2 separate regions of the Homo sapiens genome follow, and region 2 is linked to region 1. Evidence: promoter capture Hi-C in human tissues and cell types (Jung and others, 2019). All regions are on one chromosome and are shown on one strand. Each heading gives the region's core, a stretch centred on a gene start or on the middle of the fragment in contact. The rest is flanking DNA. Distances are from core to core; before and after follow the strand shown. Region 1 holds the start of ITGAE (integrin subunit alpha E). Region 2 overlaps ZZEF1 (zinc finger ZZ-type and EF-hand domain containing 1).

Evidence for each region. The method cuts DNA at HindIII sites, captures the fragments that hold promoters and counts their contacts. A contact is called where the count stands out against the background at its distance.
Region 2: a contact is called between a fragment that was not itself captured here and the fragment with the promoter of ITGAE in region 1, in 3 of the 25 tissues and cell types used here (mesendoderm cells, small bowel and thymus).

What each region holds. Positions count from the first base shown.
Region 1 is chr17:3,799,421-3,803,424 of GRCh38, forward strand. ITGAE (integrin subunit alpha E) reads right to left here and starts at 1,768. Exons shown (of 31, transcript NM_002208.5): 1 at 1,691-1,768. The coding sequence starts at 1,724. It overlaps NCBP3 (nuclear cap binding subunit 3), which reads right to left. Exons shown (of 13, transcript NM_001114118.3): 13 at 2,738-4,004. The HindIII fragment of the contact is 9,203 bases long and covers 1-4,004 here.
Region 2 is chr17:4,035,257-4,039,260 of GRCh38, forward strand. All of the region lies in intron 39 of ZZEF1 (zinc finger ZZ-type and EF-hand domain containing 1), which reads right to left. Among named protein-coding and RNA genes, the nearest start is that of LINC01975, 60 kb to the left of the region's middle. The HindIII fragment of the contact is 7,006 bases long and covers 1-4,004 here.

The DNA of each region.
Region 1 (4,004 bases), core at 518-3,017:
AGGTTTGATCGATGCCACCTGCTGGAAAAGGCACTGAGGTGATGGGTGGTGGTCTCAGAGGCTAAAGGAGACAGATGAGCCACAGGAGTATTCTGGAGCTGGGAGGCAGGACAGAGGCCTGGGCTTGAGCCTCGTGTCTATTATCAGTTGCTTGCAAGCCTGGGTAGTCACTGCCCGCTCTGTGCCCCAGTCACCTCCTCTGTACTGGGAGAGGGTAGACAAGAGTCTAGTCTAAGCATCTGCTCCAGATATTCTTGGTAATGGGAGATCAAAGCCACAAGCCATAAAAAGAGTGAGACTCTCTCCACACCCCACATGTAACTAAAAACAGAGAAGTCTAAATTGTAAAATAAAAGGAAGTTCAACAAACTGTTGACCTTTCCATGGTGACTATTCTGATGTTTTTGAAATATAAAATATTAGGCCGGGCAAGGTGGCTCATGCCTGTAGTCCCAACACTTTGGGAGGCCGAGGCAGGTCGATCACCTGAGGGCAGGAGACCAGCCTGACCAATATGGTGAGACCCTGTCTCTACTAAAAATACAAAAATTAGCCAGGCGTGGTGGCAGGCGCCTGTAATCCCAGCTACTCGGGAGGCTGAGGCAGGAGAACTGCTTGAACCTGGGAGGCAGAAGTTATGGTGAGCCAAGATCCAGCCTGGGCTCCAGCCTGGGCAGCAGAGCAAGACTCTGTCTCAAAAAATAAAATAAAATAAAATGAAATATAAAATATTAAAATCTGTCCAAAAACGTGTTCCTTGCTGGTACCCTACACATTGTGGCCTGCTTCCTGGGTGATCTGGCCCCAGGTGGGATGCTAATCCCAAGTCCCCTCCCAGCACAGCCTCAGCCCATCTTTCAGGGAGAACTCAGCTACCAGGAGCCTTTCATCCACATAAGCTTGATGCCCATCCAATTCTCCGGCCAACCTCCTGAGCAGGGGCAGGAGACCCATGGGAAGTCTGCTCAGATCACTAGGCAGGACCACCCTGGCCTCCGGCTTAATCTTAGCAGCCTCCAGGGGCTCACCTGACCGTGCTGTCTCATCACAGGGGGCCCCCGAAAGGACTCATGGCTTGGCTTGCCCAGAGGCTTCCATGGGACAGTTAAAGGCTAAAATGGGACCCCCCAGGCAGCAGAAGTGCCTCCCCCCACCCCACATTCCAGTTTTTACCCTGGGCCTGACAACACAGGAAGCAGGCTCCCTGCCAACACTCACACCCTCTACCATACAGACACTTGCCCCCAGTCTCTGGTCAACACTCTCTCACAGGGTCCTCACCCTCATCAGCCCAACCCCTGCTCTGTAACAGAAGGGAGCTCTGCCAGGCGGAGCCTCCACACTCAGAGAACAAACTACAGAGTCAAGGACCTGCCCCAAGTGGGTGCCATGGGGAGAGGGCCTCGGTGGCGGGGGGAGGCTGGCTGGAGGAGGAACAGAATGGCAGAGCCCTGGAGTCCAAAGGCCCTGGCTGACAGAACTGGCAACACGAAGCCTCAGCCGCCCTTCCCAACAAGCCTGGGGCCCTGACCCACCGAGCAAGACTCCTTTCCTGGAGGAGCTGCCACTCTCTAACCTCTGGCTCTAACTGAGCCCCATCAGAGACAGACAGTCAAGGCTGTAGTCTGCAGACACCTGGCTGGAGCTGAGGGCACAGCAGCCCCTCGAAGCAGCGGGTGAGAGGACTTACTGGCTATGCAGAGCAGAGTGTGGAAGAGCCACATCCTTGCTGGAGCAGAGGCGGCTGTGTGGGAGCCGAGGCGAGTGCGACACATGGGCCGTGGCCCACTCAGCTTCCCCTCAGCCAGGAGGCCAGGAGGCGGGGACAGAAGCACACACACCAGCAAGGACCCACAGACCGGCACTTTCAACCAAACAGAGACACTCCGGCTCGTACACAACCAGCCGTGTGGCTTCCTCAGTTGTGGGCTGGACCCTAGGAGCTTAGGGGCCACTGTCAGCCCCACTCTACCACCCACACTTTGACCCACACTTTCATGGAATAGGGAGCTGAGGTTTGGCCAGGGCCACAGTTCTAGGTGTCCTCAGCAGATGCTGGAGGTGCAGGAGCAACGTGAATCCAGCCTGCCGTTCGTATCATCCATTTGAGTCGGTCCCCTGTCCTGCCTCAGAACCTACCACCAGACATCTCAGCCCAGCTTCCAGCCCAGGGTCCTCGGTGGTGGTTGCCTCAGCACTGAGACAGGCGTCCCCCTCCCATAGGAAGTGCCTCCCCAGCCAAAAACTGGGCTCTTGTACCAGCCCATGCACTCAAGGCCCTGGGGTTCTGGAGGGCCAGGTGAGTGGAAAGACCCAACGCACTGAGTGAAATCACTGCCTCGATTCAACTTCGGCTGCGTTCATTCTCTTTAAAACCAGGACAGCAACCTGACGTGGAAACTGACTGAACAGGACTCTGAGTTACCAGAATAACAGAAGTAAAATTCTATACATCTTCCAGCATACCTGTGATGCATCCCAGCATTCCACAGAACACGCCGTTGACAGCTGGCAGTCGTGTTTAAGTGCTGATCTGAGATCTGTACTGTGTGACCAAGTCTGTGACACAGAAGGAACTCTCCTGCACCCCTGCTCCCCAGGCTGCTGGAAGTGCAGAGTGGCGCCGTCAAACAGAACTCTGCGCGGGGATGGAACTGCTCTAGGTCGACGCTGTCCAGGATGGTACTCATGAGCCACATATGGTACTAAACCCTTAAAATGCCACTAGAACAACTGATGAACTGAATTTTGTATATTTTATTTAATTTTAATTAAACGTAAAAAGGCAGGACATTCCAAGGCTCTCTAACACGAGTGTCTGCAGCCCCATTCGCTTTGAGATGTGAATGTGTTAACCCAGGGTGGACAATGGTGTTGACTTCATTACTAGATAAAAATCCATGTTATTTTGTTTCTCGCATTGAAAGGCTGCTTGGCTAAGGTTCTGTGAAGATCCGATGACATTTCCAACACTTTGCCTTGTCTGCTTTGCTCTGACAAAGTGCTTATGACTACTAGATCTTGCTCGGTTATGTGAGATTACAATTCACCGGTTTCCATCCTGTATGAAACAGAAGTTAAACAGTTGTAAAAGCAAAATTCCAGGTCTGGTGGTTTTCCTGCCAGGTCATGATGAAACCATCCTACTTCTGTTGAACCTCGTCCCAGGCAGGATCGGGGCCTGCGGCCTACAGCCTGTCTTCCCAGCGCTCCAGGGCTCGTGACCCTCCTCCTCCCCTCACTTCATTCTGCGCTCCAAGGGCACTGGGGAGAGTCACAGTGGTCTCCTCTCCCCCGCATTGGCCTAAAGCAGGAAGAGAGCAGCCCAGTCACTGAGCAGATCCCTGCTAGGGCAGGGCTAGAACCCAGACTGCAGCTCACTCGAGATTCCTGAGAGAAGACTTTGTGTTTGGAGTGTGAACGTCAGGGTGCCTCGGGAAGCCAGGGAAAGCTGATGACTGGGTGCTGGACAGGGAGCAGGGCCACTTCTGTACCTCTGCACACTTCTAGAATGCGGACTCATCCTGCATCCATCCAGTATGTATTTATCCAAGCGTCAGTGCCTCTAGTCATGAGACACACAGGGGTCCGTAAAGCCCACCTGGCGGTAGCTGCTTTCCCCACAAACCCAAACTACATCCCCAAGGTCAGGGCCAGGCTCTGTTGAGTAATGCTCCCCATCACAGCACGCAGCACAAGGCTGGCTGTTTGACAAATACACACATAACCAAAAGACATGTGAATGTGGTTTCCCAACTCACTTTAAACAAATATTCCGGGACCAACTTCAAGGACGTTCTACAACAGAAACTGGACTGTACTCTTCACAAACATCAATGTCATGAAAGACAGAAAGGCTGAGGACCTGCTCCAAACGAAAGGAGGCTGCAGAGAGGACAACTAAAGGCAGCGCTTGATCCTGGATTGGATCCTGGACCAGAAAAACAACGGCTTTCAAAATCATTATTGGGACAGTTGGCAAATTTGAAACAGGAACTACAAAT
Region 2 (4,004 bases), core at 981-3,480, 240 kb after region 1:
GTCTGAGTTGTTATCCTCAGTGTGACTCAAGAGGGCACTATATCCATAGTATGAAAACAAAGCAATCAAAGAACAAAAAGTTCTTGGAAATAAAAAGTGATTCTCAAGAAGGCGTCTTTCTGACATGGCAGCCTGGGAGGGGTGTCACAGTCCAAGAACTCAGAAGGCATCTAGGCAGGGGGTTGGTCTGGTGGAGGCCACATGGTGTCAGAACCCAAGCAGGGTATGGAATTTCCATGGAGAAGGTCTGGCAGAGGAGTCAGAGCACAGGTGGCTGAGGAAGTCACCCAAGCCCAGGAATGCCCAGGCCTCTGGAGTTGGAGCTTGGGCTCCGAGTGAGGTGAGGAGGGCAAAAACGCAGAAGAGCAGCCTGATGTGAGTGTCCGAACCTAAGTGGAGAGGTGAGGGCATCTGCGCGGGGAGTTCACCCTCACACAGGGGCTCAGAGTCCAAACAGCATAAGGAGAGTGTTGCCACTGAGTAGCAGCCTGTTGCGGGTGAGGGTCGTCTCACTGCAAGGGGGCAACCTGGATTAGAGAGACAGACCCAAGTGTGGTGGGGAGGTATCCATGTCAAGAGTCCACTGTAATCCCAGCACTTTGGGAGGCCAAGGCAGGGGGATTACCTGAGGTCAGGAGTTCAAGGCCAGCCTGGCCAACATGGTGAAACCCTGTCCCTACTAAACATATAAAAATTAGCCGGGTGTAGTGGTTGGCGCCTGTAATTCCAGCTACTCAGGAGGCTGAGACAGGAGAATCGCTTGAACCGGGGAGGCAGAGGTTGCAGTGAGCCGAGATTGCACCACTGCACTACAGCCTGTCCAAAAAAAAAAAAAAAAAGAGTCGAAACAAGGAAAGGAGGACACCTCAAAAGAAGAACAGCAGCAGAGATGTGAGACTGATCCAGTAGGTAATTATACGAAGGATGATGGGATCCAGGATTCTCACCGTTAAAGACTGGATTCTTTAAATCAGGGTTTCTCAACCTCAGTGCTACTGAAATTTAGGTCTGATAATTCTCATGTGTGTGTGGGGTAAGTGGCACCTGTGCATTTAAAAATGTTTACCAGCAATTCCTATAGTGTAGACTCCGCTAGAATTCCAGGAGCATTCCCTGAGTTGTGACAGTCAAAAATGTCTCAAGGCACTGTCAAATAGCCATATTGGATACCTTCAGTTTGAGAATCACTGCTCTAAGGCCGGGCGCGGTGGCTCACGCCTGTAATCCCAGCACTTTGGGAGGCCGAGGTGGGTGGATCACCTGAGGTCAGGAGTTCAAGACCAGCCTGACCAACATGGTGAAACCTCATCTCTACTAATACAAAAATTAGCCAGGCGTGGTGGCACGTGCCTGTAATCCCAGCTACTAGGAAGGCTGAGGCAGGAGAATCACTTGAACCGGGAGGCGGAGGTTGCAGTGAGCAGAGATTGCACCACTGCACACCAGCCTGGGCGACAAGAGGGAAACTCCATCTTCAAAAAAAAAAAAGAGAATCACTGCTCTAAATAAATATATAGAATACACACACACACACACACACACACACACACACACACACACACTCTCTCTCTCTCTCTCTCTCTCTCTCCCCGCACCCCGCCCGCCCGCACTGGGAAGACTGGGGAGCAGTGACACCCTGTTAGCAATGAACCCACCTAGTGCTCAAGCCATTTCAACATACTATCCTCTACCAAAAGGAATGAGGTCACCTTAGAGAAATGGCTGATTCTAGGGCTAGGGGAGGGAGAATTTAAGAAGTGCTGAAATGATGGGGATATGTCAAAAGGACACAGAAGTCAGCGGGAATGGGTTCCCACTGGTCAAAATAAGTAATCAGAATAATGGATTATAGCTCATGGAGTAAAACAGGAAATCATGAACCCATACTGATATAACTAACTAAATAAATAAATTGTTTGATGAGAAACAGGATATTTACATAGTTTCAAAGACTCTCCCCACTAAATATTTACTAATAACAAAAGTGGAAAGATTATGGTAGAAAAGGCTAATGGACACCACTTAATCCAGTGATCAAAGTAAACATGATCAGTAATGAAATACGTCAAAACTGTGTTCCACCTGACAGGCTGCAATGAGAATGCAGCATCTCATCTGTGATTTTCCTGCCCAAGAGGCAAAGCCTGAATCTAATTATGAGGAGACATCTGATAAACTCCAACCCCAAAGAGGAGGACATTCCACACAATAGGTGGCCTGTGATCTTCAAAAGCTCATGATCACGAAAGTAAAGACTGATAACTGTTAAAGACTAGAGGTGATTAAAAGACATGACAACAAACTGCTACACGTTCATTCTTTTTCTTTTTCTTTTCTTTTTTTAAGAGACAGAGTCTTACCCTATTGCCCAAACTGGAATGCAGAGGTGCAACCTTGGCTCCCTATGACTTCGACCTCCTGGGCTCGAGTGATCCTCCTGCCTCAGCCTCCCAAGTAGCTGAGACTATAGGTGTGTGCCACCATGCCTGGTTAATTTTTCTATTTTTTTGTAGATAGAGTCTTGCTATGTTTCCCAGGCTGGTCTCGAACTCCTGGGTTCAAGCAACCCTCCTACTTGGTCTCCCAAAGTGCTGGGATTACAGATTCAAGGCACTGTGCCTGGCCTATACATTAATTCTGATCCTCCTGCCATAAAAGACACTTTTGGAGCAAACTAGTGAAACTTGAGTAGGGAGTAAGCATTAGATGGCAGCAATGTACTGATGTTAATTTCTCTGACTTTGATGACTGCTGTCTGGTTACACAGGAGAATCTCCTTGTTTGTAGAAAACACACACTAACATATTTAGAAGTAATATGGCATGAACTTGGCAACTTTCAGGCATAAAATTATTTGTATAGTACTTTTAACTTTTACATAAGTTTGTAATTATTTCTAAATTTGAGAGGATATGGAGCAAATAAAGCTTTCATGTGCTGCCGTGGGAGTGTGAACCGGTACAAACATTGCAGAAACTGTTTGGCAGGGAGTGTGAACTGGTACAAACAACGGCAGAAACTGTTTGGCAGGCCAAGTTTGGCCTGCATTCAGATGCTCATCAAAAGCCACAGACAGGTGTGCTCATAGTATTGTCTGGAGTAATTTCCAGTTTAGAAACACTTAACAATAGTAACGTGAACTTTAAAATTATGGCATATTCATATAATGGAATTCTGGATAACAGTGAAAATGAATAAAGGAAACTAATCACAATAACATGGATGCATCTCACAAACATAATGTTGAGCAGAAGAAGCCAGACACAGGCCGGGCGCAGCGGCTCACGCCTGTCATTCCAGCACTTTGGGAGGCCGAGGTGGGTGGATCACTGGAGGCCAGGAGTTCAAGACCAGCCTGGCCAACATGGTGAAACCCCGGCTCTACTCAAAATATAAAAATTAGCTGGGTGTGGTGGCACATTCCTGTAGTCCCAGCTACTTGGGAGGCTGAGGCACGAGAAATCACTTGAACCCGGGAGGCAGAGGCTGCAGTGAGCCGAGATTGCTCCACTGCACTCCAGCCTGGGCAACAGAGCAAGACTCTGTCTCAAAAAACAAACAAACAAACAAACAAACAAACAAAAAACCACCACCACCAGGCAAGAGGAATGCAGCGACTTACTCCAGCTATACAAAGTTTCAAAACAAGCAAAACTAACCTATGGTGACAGAGGTCTTTTTATTACTGGGTTGTAAGAGTTCTTTATATATTCCTTATAGGACTCTATCTAGGCAGTTTTTACACTAAAATCAAACTAATAATTTGCCCTCCAAAGTGCCTGCTAAAAAAAAAAGATTATTAGGGGAAAATAACCTCAGTGGTGATTTTAAAAAGTCAACTTAATGAAATCTCTCAGAACAAGAGATAAACATGAAAAATACAACCAAACTGAAGAAAAGATGGAGGGTAGATTCAAGGGGTCCATCCTGGCCAGGCGCAGTGGCTCACGCCTGTAATCCCAGCACTTTGGGAGGCTGAGGTGGGCAGACTGCTTGAGATCGGC